Regions from separate parts of the Homo sapiens genome. Here regions 1 and 3 are each linked to region 2. The links are contacts of gene promoters, found by promoter capture Hi-C in blood cells and fetal thymus (Javierre and others, 2016). All regions are on one chromosome and are shown on one strand. The core of a region is centred on a gene start or on the middle of the fragment in contact, and the rest is flanking DNA. Distances in the headings are between cores, read along the strand shown.

Region 1 (3,405 bases), core at 627-3,126, 380 kb after region 2:
CTACACTGCTGAGAGCTGGCTTTGACTGTGCTTTCCTGCCGGTGACATGATGGCGCATGTGTTCTGTCCCCCTGTCCATCACCCCCTCTAGTTCTGGCCCCTGTGTGTCTCGTGTCCTTAATGGGCCTTCCCTCTAACTGCTCCCCTCTCTAACCGTCTCCACCTGTCTTGGTCGGCTGGGGCTTCCCTAACAATACCACAGACTGAGGCTTAAACAAAATGTATTTTTTCCCTGTTCTGGAGGCCAGAAGTGTGAGATCTAGGTGCCAGCAGGGGGTGGTTTCTGGTGAGGGCTCTCTCCTTGGCTTTCAGATGGCCACCTCCTCACAGTGTCCTCCTGTGGCTTTTTCTCTGTCCATGTGCACTGCTGGTGTCTCTTTTTTTTTTTTTTTTTTTTTTTGAAAAGACTGCCCTGTCATCCAGGTTGCAGTGCAGTGGTGAGATCACAGCTCACTGCAGCCTCAATCTCCTGAGCTTAATCGAGCCTCCCACCTCAGCCTCCCAAGGATCCACAGGCGCAAAGTGTGGTTTTTTTGTGTGTGTTTGTTTTGTTGTTGTTGTTGTTGTTGTTGTTGTTTTTCTGTAGAGATGGGATCCCAGTATCTTGCCCAGGCTGATGTCTAACTCCTGGGCTCAAGTGATCCTCCTGCCTCAGCCTCCCAAAGTGCTGGGATTAGAGGTGTGAGCCACTGTGCCCGGCCTCTTCCTTTTCTTATAAGGACCCCAGTTCTGCTCAGATCAGTCCCCACCTGATGACGTCATATAACCTTCATTCCCTCCCTGAAGGCCTCATCTCCAAATACAGTCACATGGGGGTTAGGGCTTCAACATAAGAATTGGGGGCAGGGGGACGTAATTCAGGCCAAAGCTTGTCATGAGATGCCCAGGTGGCTCCTCATGGCTGAGGATAAATCCCAGGTTCTACCTGGCACTGGAGAGCCCTGAGCTGCCTCCCGTCACCCCTCACCCTGATAACCTCTGTCCCTCAGCACCCAGGACAGTCGCCCCACCAGCACTCCTCATTTCTCCCACGCTCCTCTCAGCGAGCCCCTCCTCTTTGAAATCCCAGGCACCCTTCCCCGGGGCTTTTCCAGCCTCTGGGGGAGCCTCCTGGGTCTTCAGAGCAGTTGGCATGCCCCTCCTTCTCCCAGAGGGTGCCTGGGTTTCGCTGCCTCTGCCCCCGCGTCTCTGTTATCTGTGTAGGAGAGGCACTCCATTCCTGCCATCAGACAGCAGAGTGGCGGGACAGGGTGGGGACCTGCGGCGAGGTCAAGGGTATCTTGCCTGATGTCACCCTGACCCTGTATCCCTCACAGGTCCTCAGTCTGCTCACAGCTGTGACGTTCACAGGGTGTAACACTGAAACCAGTGGGAGTTGCCCTGCAGGCCAGCAGGGATGCTGAGACCTGCCCTCAGCCAGCGGACGTCCAGCCATCTGCATGTTGGTCGCACATCCATTTTCCCTGCGCCCTGGCTCAGTGGATTCCAAACTGTAGCGTGCCTGAGCATTGCTGTTCAGGGTTGTCTACAAGAAGAGCGTGTTCTTTTTCATTCACTGTCTTCATGGTGCTGACTCAAGCCTGACTCCAAGTCAGAGGCCAGCCTACAACATCCTGGGGATCCTTCCAGAGTATGGGCTGAACCAGGCAGGAAGCAGCCTTTGGCTCTGTCCACCTGCACAAGGCTACGCCCTGGCATTGAGCTTGTCCTAGACCATCAGTTCTTAACTGGTCAAGGTCTGGGAACATTTGTCATTGTCACGATTTGGGGGAGCTCCTGGCATGGAGTGGGTGGAGGCTGGGGACGCTGCTCAGCACGCTGCAGGGCCCAGAACGGCCCCACCCCAGAGAACAATGTTGTCCCAAATGTCAGAAGGGCCTGAGTTGGAAAGCTCTGCCCTCTGCTGCATGGGCTGTCTGATCTCTGCCATGGAGCCAGTTCACCAACCAGCCGCCTCCACTGTCCTCTTAGGTGGGGTGTCCACCAGGTGGAGACAAAGCTGTGTGCGGAGGCACAGCAGGAGCAGATAGAGAAAGCCCCACAGGTTCCTGCTCCTTCCTTGGGGTCCTGGGCTGAAGGACTCTGCTCAGCCTTCCACCTGAGGTTCACTTGCCCCCACAGCCCTCTGCTGGTGCTGCTCAGCACGCCTGGGCCTCCAGGTTGGAGGGGCAAGGTCTCAGGACCCAGGGAAGCCAGAGAAGAATGGAGCTTCCTCCCCAGAAAGCTACTCACGATTTACTATCTAGTACTGAACGCTTTGTGTTTTTGTTTGTTTGGTTTTTGTTTTGTTTTGTTTTGTTTTGTTTTGAGACGGAGTCTCGCTTTGTTGTCCAGGCTGGAGTGCAGTGGTGTGATCTCGGCTCACTGCAAGCTCCGCCTCCGGGGTTCATGCCATTCTCCTGCCTCAGCCTCCTGAGTAGCTGGGACTACAGGTGCCCGCCACCACACCTGGCTAATTTTTTTTTGTATTTTTAGTGGAGACGGGGTTTCACCGTGTTAGCCAGGATGGTCTCGATCTCCTGACCTCGTGATCCGCCCACCTCAGCCTCCCAAAGTGCTGGGATTACAGGCGTGAGCCACCGCGCCCAGCCTAACACTTTGTGTTTTTAAGAGATGGGGTCTTGCTCTGTTGCCCAGGCTGGAGTGCAGTGGTGTGATCTCAACCTACTAGGTTCAAGAAATCCTCCTGCCTCAGCCTCCTGAGGAGCTGGGACTGCAGGTGCACCACCATGCCTGGCTAATTTTTCTGTTTTGTAGAGATGGGATCTTGCTATGTTGCCCAGGCTGGTCTTAAACTCTTGGGCTCAAGAGATCCTCCCATCTTGGCCTCCCAGAGTGCTGGGATTACAGGTGTGAGACACCACACCTGGCCATGAAAGCTTTTTTCCGAGATGGAGTTTCGCTCTTATTGCCCAGCCTGGAGTGCAATGGCACAGTCTTGGGTCACTGCAACCTCCACCTCCCCCATTCAAGCGATCCTCCTGCCTCAGCCTCCCAAGTAGCTGGGATTACGGGCGCCCGCCACCATGCCTGGCTAATTTTTGCATTTTTAGCAGAGACGGGGTTTCACCATGTTGGCCAGGCTGGTCTCGAACTCCTGACATCAGGTGATCCACCTGCCTCGGCCTCCCAAAGTACTGGGATTACAGGCGTGAGCCACTGTGCCCAGCCATGAAAGCTTTTTATACAAAAGAGGCAGCAGGTCTCAGTCCAAAGGGCTCTAGAGCTGCAACCGTACTTGGATTTCCCTGCCCCTGCACTATATCTTGGGCCGATCATACCCTCTTGTTGAGCTCTGTAGATTGTACAAAACCAAAGAGAGGGCCTGTGGGTGTCCTCCCAGTCTCCATCCTGTCCTGTCTTCTGGCCAGCTTGGTTTGGACTCCGCCCCTCTCCTGTATGTCT
Region 2 (3,103 bases), core at 212-2,711:
CATTTTCCAGATAGGGAAGCTGAGGTTTAAGCATCTACAGAGAGGAACTCGGGTAAGAGAGAGAGATTTTACCGTGTTCTCTCTTTTGTAATTGTTTTTTTTTTTTAAAGAGGGAGTCTCCCTCTGTCGCCTAGGCTGGAGTGCAGTGGCGAGATCTCGGCTCACTGCCACCCCCGCCTCCCGGGTTCAAGCGATTCTTAGCCTCCCGAGTAGCTGGGATTACAGGCATGTACTGCCACGCTTGGCTAATTTTTGTATTTTTAGTAGAGAGGGAGTTTCACCATGTTGGCCAGGCTGGTCTCAAACTCCTGACCTCAGGTGATCCACCTGCCTTGGCCTCCCAAAGTGCTGGAATTACAGGCGTGAGCCACCAAACCCAGCCTATAAATTATTATTATTATTATTATTTTGAGACAAGGTATCCCACTCTGTCACCTAGGCTGGAATGCAGTGGCACAATCATAGCTCACTGCAGCCTCCAATTCCTGGGCTCAAATTATCCTCCCACCTCAGCCTCCCAAGTAGCTGGGACTACAGGCACGTGCCACCACATCTAGCTAATTTTTTAATTTTTTGTACAGATTGGTGGGGTCCGGTTTCACTATGTTGCCCAGGCTGGTCTCGAATTCCTGGCCTCACGATCCTCACGCCCTGGCCTCCCAAAGTGCTGGAATTACAGGCATGAGCCACCATGCCCTGCTGTAACCATTTTGTCTTCAAGGACATGGAGATGTTCTCTAGTGCAAAATGAATGAATGTCGGCCGGGCGCGGTGGCTCACATCTGTCATCCCAGCACTTTGGGAGCCCGAGGTGGGTGGATCACCTGAGGTCAGGAGTTCAAGACCACCCTGGCCAACATGGTAAAACCCTATCTCTACTAAAAATATAAAAAGTAGCCGGGCATGGTGGCGGGCACCTGTAATCCCAACTACTCGGGAGGCTGAGGGAGGAGAATCTCGCTTGAACCCAGGAGATGGAGGTTTCAGTGAGCTGAGATGGTGCCACTGTACTCCAGCCTGGGCGACAGAGTGAGACTCTGTCTCAAAAAACAAAACCAAAAAGAAACCAAAGGAATGAGTGTGACTCAAATTCGCATGTCTGTGTAGCTATGTCTGTGTAGCTCTATGGATACCTCTGAGCTGTGACTGCCAGTCCCTATCACCCACAAGGTGACATCCTTCCACCCCCAATGTGGCACTCTGCCTCTCTGTGCCTCAGTTCCTCCATCTGTACAATGGGAGGGTAACCCCATCCCACCATTGGGCACGGGAGGATGTGATTTCCCACCCCAGACATGATCCGAGGCCAGTCCTCGTGTCATGTCCGTCTGCCTGGGCCCCCCAGTCCCCCAGGGGCCCCACATACCTTTCCTTCCACTGCAGGGCGGGCAGCTGGCCCAGAGGACAAGGGCCAGGAGAAGCTGCGGGGTCATGGCTGCGGCCAGCTCTGCTCTCAGGAGTGGGTGGGAACGTCGTGGGAGACTTGAGAGGGGAGGTGAGGACTTGGGACCTGCCCAGGGGAAAGCCCAGCCCAGGGTCAAGGCCCGCCCCCTCCCCGACTTCCTTCAGGTCTGACTCACTGGTGGGGCTCGTGGGGCCGCTAGGGAGATGAATTAGGGTGTGGAGGAGCCCCAGCCCCCTGGGGAGCACAGGCCACCCCTGCTCGGAAGGCCCCGAGGGTGGGGGCGGGGGAGGAGGCTGTGAAAGGGAGAAGTGGAGACCTGCTGGCTTTTCCCAGCACAGCATGTCCTGCTGGCCTTCCTTCCGCTGCCCTGAAGCGGGGGAAACCCCAGGCAGGCAGGCAGGGGCTCAGGGACATGGAGGGAGACAGAGGCAGAGATGGGGGAGAGAGGCAGAGAGACAGAGAAGACAGAAGGAAGACACAGAGAGACAGGGAGATGACAGAGACAGAGACACAGAGAGAGACACAGATGAGAGAGGCAGAGAGACAGAGACAAGAAGAGGAGGACACAGAGATAGAGGGATACAGAGACAGGGAGATGACAGAGACAGAGACAGAGAGACACAGATGAAAGAGGCAGAGAGACAGAGACGAGAGGAGGAGGACACAGAGATAGACAGGGAGATGACAGAGAGACACAGAGACACAGATGAAAGAGGCAGAGAGAAAGAGACGAGAGGAGGAGGACACAGAGAGAGAGAGACAGAGACAGGGAGATGACAGAGACAGAGACAGAGAGAGACACAGATGAGAGAGGCAGAGAGAAAGACAAGAGGAAGAGGACAAAGAGATAGAGAGACAGGGAGACGACAGAGACAGAGAGAGATACAGATGAGAGAGACAGAGATGAGAGGAGGAGGACACAGAGATAGATAGAGACAGGGAGATGACAGACAGAGAAAGGGGCATGACAGAGACAGAAACACAGAGAGAGACACAGAGATGAGAAAGGCAGAGATGAGAGGAGGAGGACACGGAGATAGACAGGGAGATGACAGAGACAGAGACAGAGACAAAGATGAGAGAGTCAGAGAGACAGATGAGAGGAGGACACAGAGATAGAGGGATAGAGAGACAGGGAGATGACAGAGACAGAGAGAGCTACAGATGAGAGAGGCAGAGAGACAGATGAGAGGAGGACACAGAGATAGAGGGATAGAGAGACAGGGAGATGACAGAGAAAGTGACAGAGATACAGATGAGAGAGGCAGAGAGACAAATGAGAGGAGGACACAGAGATAGAGAGAGACAGAGACAGGGAGATGACAGAGACAGAGAGAGATACAGATGAGAGAGGCAGAGAGACAGAGACGAGAGGAGGAGGACACAGAGATAGAGAGACAGGGAGATGACAGAGACAGAGAAAGGGGGATGACAGAGACAGAAACACAGAGAGAGACAGAGATGAGAGGAGGAGGACACAGAGATAGATAGGGAGATGATAGAGACAGAGAGAGACAGGGGAATGAGAGAGACAGAGACAGAGATGAGAGGAGGAGGACACAGAGACAGAGAGAGACAGGGAGATGATGGAAACAGAAAGAGAAACACAGAGAGCAGACAGACAGAGGAAGAGAGACAGAGGGACAGAGATAAGAGAGGAAGACAGAGATAGGGAAATGAGAGAGACACAGAGACAGA
Region 3 (3,203 bases), core at 402-2,901, 400 kb after region 2:
CCCAAGTAGCTGGGACTGCAGGCACGCGCCACCATGCCTGGCTAATTTTTTTCTATTTTTAGTAGAAACGGGGTTTCACTATGTTAGCCAGGCTGGTCTTGAACTCCTGACATCAGGTGATCCACCTGCCTCGGCCTCCCAAAGTGCTGGGATTACAGGCGTGAGCCACTGCACCCCGTGAAAGTTACATGTTAACCATCCTAGAGGCCGGGCACGGTGGCTCACGCCTGTAATCCCAACACTTTGGGAGGCCCGAGGTGGGAGAATTGCTTGAACCTAGGAGTTCGAGACCAGCCTGGGCAACATAGTAAGACCCCCGTCTCTACAAAAAATGCAAAAAAATTAGCCAGGCATGGTGGTGTGCACCTGTAGTCCCAGCTACCCAGGAGGCTGAGGTAGGAGGTTCGCCTGAGCCCAGGAACTGAGCTGCAGTGAGCTGTGATCGCACCACTGCACTCCAGCCTGGGCAGCAGAGCAAGACCCTGTCTCTAAAAAATAAAAAATAAAAAAAAAAAACAAAATAAAGGCCGGGTGCAGCAGCTCACGCCTGTAATCCCAGCACTTTGCGAGGCAGAGGCGGGTGGATCACAAGGTCAAGCGATCGAGACCATCCTGGCCAACATGGTGAAACCCCATCTCTACTAAAAATAGAAAAATTAGCCGGGCAGGGTGGCGCATGCTTGTAATCCCAGCTATTCGGGAGGCTGAGGCAGGAGAATCACTTGAACCTGGAAGGTGGAGGTTGCAGTGAGCCGAGATCATGCCACTGCATTCCAACCTGGTGACAAAGCAAGACTCCGACTCAAAAAAAAAAAAATAATAATAATGATAATAAAAACATCCTAGATTTGCAGGTGAGCCTCAGAGCTGGCTGCTCAGATGGGCCCTGGGATCTCTGCCAGGTGTGGGCCTATGAATGAAGGAAAGTGAGGACTGAAAATGCAGCTAACATTTTTTCCAAGGAAGCTTTCCCGGGGTGGCAGGAGGTGAGCTCTGTGGGTGATGGAGCTGGAGATGCAGAGGAGCTTGTCTAGGGCACCCACAGCCCTCCTCCCCCATGGCAGGAGAGAGAAGCCGGGCTCTGGAAAGGAGAGGTGGGCACAAGGTAACCTGCGAGTCGCTGCCAGCACCTGGCCCAAGGCTCTGGCCTCTGGTCCTGGCTTAAGCATCTAGCGTGTTCCAGCCAGTTGAGTCCAGGGCCCATCTGCAGGTGAGGGACAGTGGGGTGGGGGTTGGCTCTGCAGAGGGCCTGTCCCTGTCCCCTAGGGACCCAAGAAGCCTGCGGGCAGCCCAGCCCCCATGGCAGTCACAGCCACGCTCAGCCCCCACAGCAGGCGCCCATAGTGGAGTCCGGACAGCCAGCGAGCACCTTGTCCTCGGGATACACCTACCCCACGGCGACAGGCGTCCAGCCCGAGTCGTCAGCTTCCATCGTGACCTCCTACCCCCCGCCCTCCTACAACCCCACCTGCACCGCCTACACGGGTAAGACCAGCGTTCCTTGCCCAGGTGGTCTGCCCGTCGGTCCCCACTTCAACTCAGTGGAATCAGCATCTCCCCCCGACTCATTGTTTTCTCTGCTGCTCAGCACCAAGCTACCCGAACTATGACGCGTCGGTGTACTCCGCTGCCAGCCCTTTCTATCCTCCAGCGCAGCCCCCGCCTCCCCCGGGACCCCCGCAGCAGCTGCCCCCGCCGCCCGCGCCTGCAGGCTCAGGAAGCAGCCCCAGGGCCGACTCGAAGCCACCGCTTCCCAGCAAGCTGCCGAGACCCAAGGCGGGGCCCAGGCAGCTCCAGCTTCACTACTGCGACATCTGCAAGATCAGCTGCGCTGGCCCCCAGGTCAGTCGCCCTCCTGCCATGGGCAGGCCCCAGGGACCTCTCTGTCCCCAACGTCTGAACCCGAATGTGGGCGCCGGTGGGGTGGTCAGGGTCGCTGCCTGCTGAAAGAAGGTCTGGTGTTAACTTGCATGTTGTATGCATGGCCTGTGTGTGCAAGCGCTTGTGTGTGTGTGCAAGTGTGAGTGTGTATGTGTGCGTGTGTTTATGCATGTGTATATGTGTGCATATGTGTGTGCAAACGTGAGTGTGCATGTATGTGTGCTTGCACGTATGTGTGCGCATGTGTGCCTGCATGTGCCTGTGTGTGCAAGCGTGTGTGTATGTGTGTGCATGTGTGTGCGTGTGTGTATGTGTGCGCATGTATGCCTGCATGTGTATGTGTGTGCATGCGCCCGTGTGTGTGTGTGCATGCGTGCTTGTGCTTGGCAGTGCTTGTTTGGGACATACGTGAAAGAATCTTTACCAAACACACGAGCTTGAGATTTTAAAGCTTGCAAATCACCCAGCTGAGATCGTGGGCTCAATTCCTGGAAAGATAATTAGACCCTAGAGCTCTGTCTTTGCAAAACACACACCCTGATCTTCTTTTGTTTTTAATACTCTGAAAGGAAGCTCTGGACCGCGGAGAGACACGGAGTCTGCAATCGCAGACTCTGGAGAGGTGTGAGAAGGCTCAGGACACCGTTATCAGGACCCCTGACCCAGCTGGGGATGGGGGGCCGGTCCCTGCTCAGGACCCCTCCCGCCCCAGATCACCCTTTCCCTGTCTCAGACTCTTTCCTCCAGCAGCTCTCCACTGTGTCTCATGCTGGGAGAGACCCCGGCCTTCTTTGCAGAGTGCTCGCATAGAAGTTTGAGTTTCTTTTGGAGACAAAGTCTCGCTCTGTTGCTCAGGCTAGGGTGCAGTGGTACAATCACAGCTCGCTACAGCCTCCACCTCCTGGGTTCAAGTGATCCTCCCCTCAGCCTTCCAAGTAGCTGAGACAGGTACGAACCACCATGCCCAGCTAATTTTTTAAATTTTCAATAGAGATGGGGTCTCACTATGTCGCCCAGGTCCAGTCTCGAACTCCTGGGCCCAAGCGATCCTCCTACCTCAGCCTCCTGAGTAGCTGGGATTACAGGTGCACACCACCATGCCTGGCTATTTAAAAAAAAATTTTTTTGTAGATACAGGGTCTCACTATGTTGCCCAGGCTGGTCTCGAACTCCTAAGCTCAAGGAATTCTTCTGCCTCAGCCTCCCATAGTGCCAGGATGACAAGCTGAGTCCCTGCGCCAGGCCCGTGTGGGTTATTTAATCCTTATATCTGCCTTGTGGCTACCATCTCTGTGTGGCAGATAAAATCCCAGAGGCTCAGA

What was found. The method cuts DNA at HindIII sites, captures the fragments that hold promoters and counts their contacts. A CHiCAGO score of 5 or more calls a contact.
Region 1: a fragment that was not itself captured here is called in contact with the fragment with the promoter of EBI3 in region 2 in 1 of 17 cell types (erythroblasts); the score reaches 5.1 in erythroblasts.
Region 3: a fragment that was not itself captured here is called in contact with the fragment with the promoter of EBI3 in region 2 in 1 of 17 cell types (erythroblasts); the score reaches 5.4 in erythroblasts.

Annotation. Positions count from the first base shown.
Region 1 is chr19:3,847,896-3,851,300 of GRCh38, reverse strand. The region is part of intron 1 of ZFR2 (zinc finger RNA binding protein 2); the gene reads left to right. Among named protein-coding and RNA genes, the nearest start is that of ZFR2, 19 kb to the left of the region's middle. RefSeq lists an enhancer at 1,275-1,776. The HindIII fragment of the contact is 2,011 bases long and covers 871-2,881 here.
Region 2 is chr19:4,227,881-4,230,983 of GRCh38, reverse strand. EBI3 (Epstein-Barr virus induced 3) reads right to left here and starts at 1,461. Exons shown (of 5, transcript NM_005755.3): 1 at 1,367-1,461. The coding sequence starts at 1,433. RefSeq lists enhancers at 1-188, 1,152-1,241. The HindIII fragment of the contact is 27,046 bases long and covers 1-3,103 here.
Region 3 is chr19:3,829,942-3,833,144 of GRCh38, reverse strand. It overlaps ZFR2 (zinc finger RNA binding protein 2), which reads left to right. Exons shown (of 19, transcript NM_015174.2): 4 at 1,267-1,485; 5 at 1,589-1,842. Among named protein-coding and RNA genes, the nearest start is that of ZFR2, 37 kb to the left of the region's middle. RefSeq lists an enhancer at 1,303-1,892. The HindIII fragment of the contact is 1,366 bases long and covers 969-2,334 here.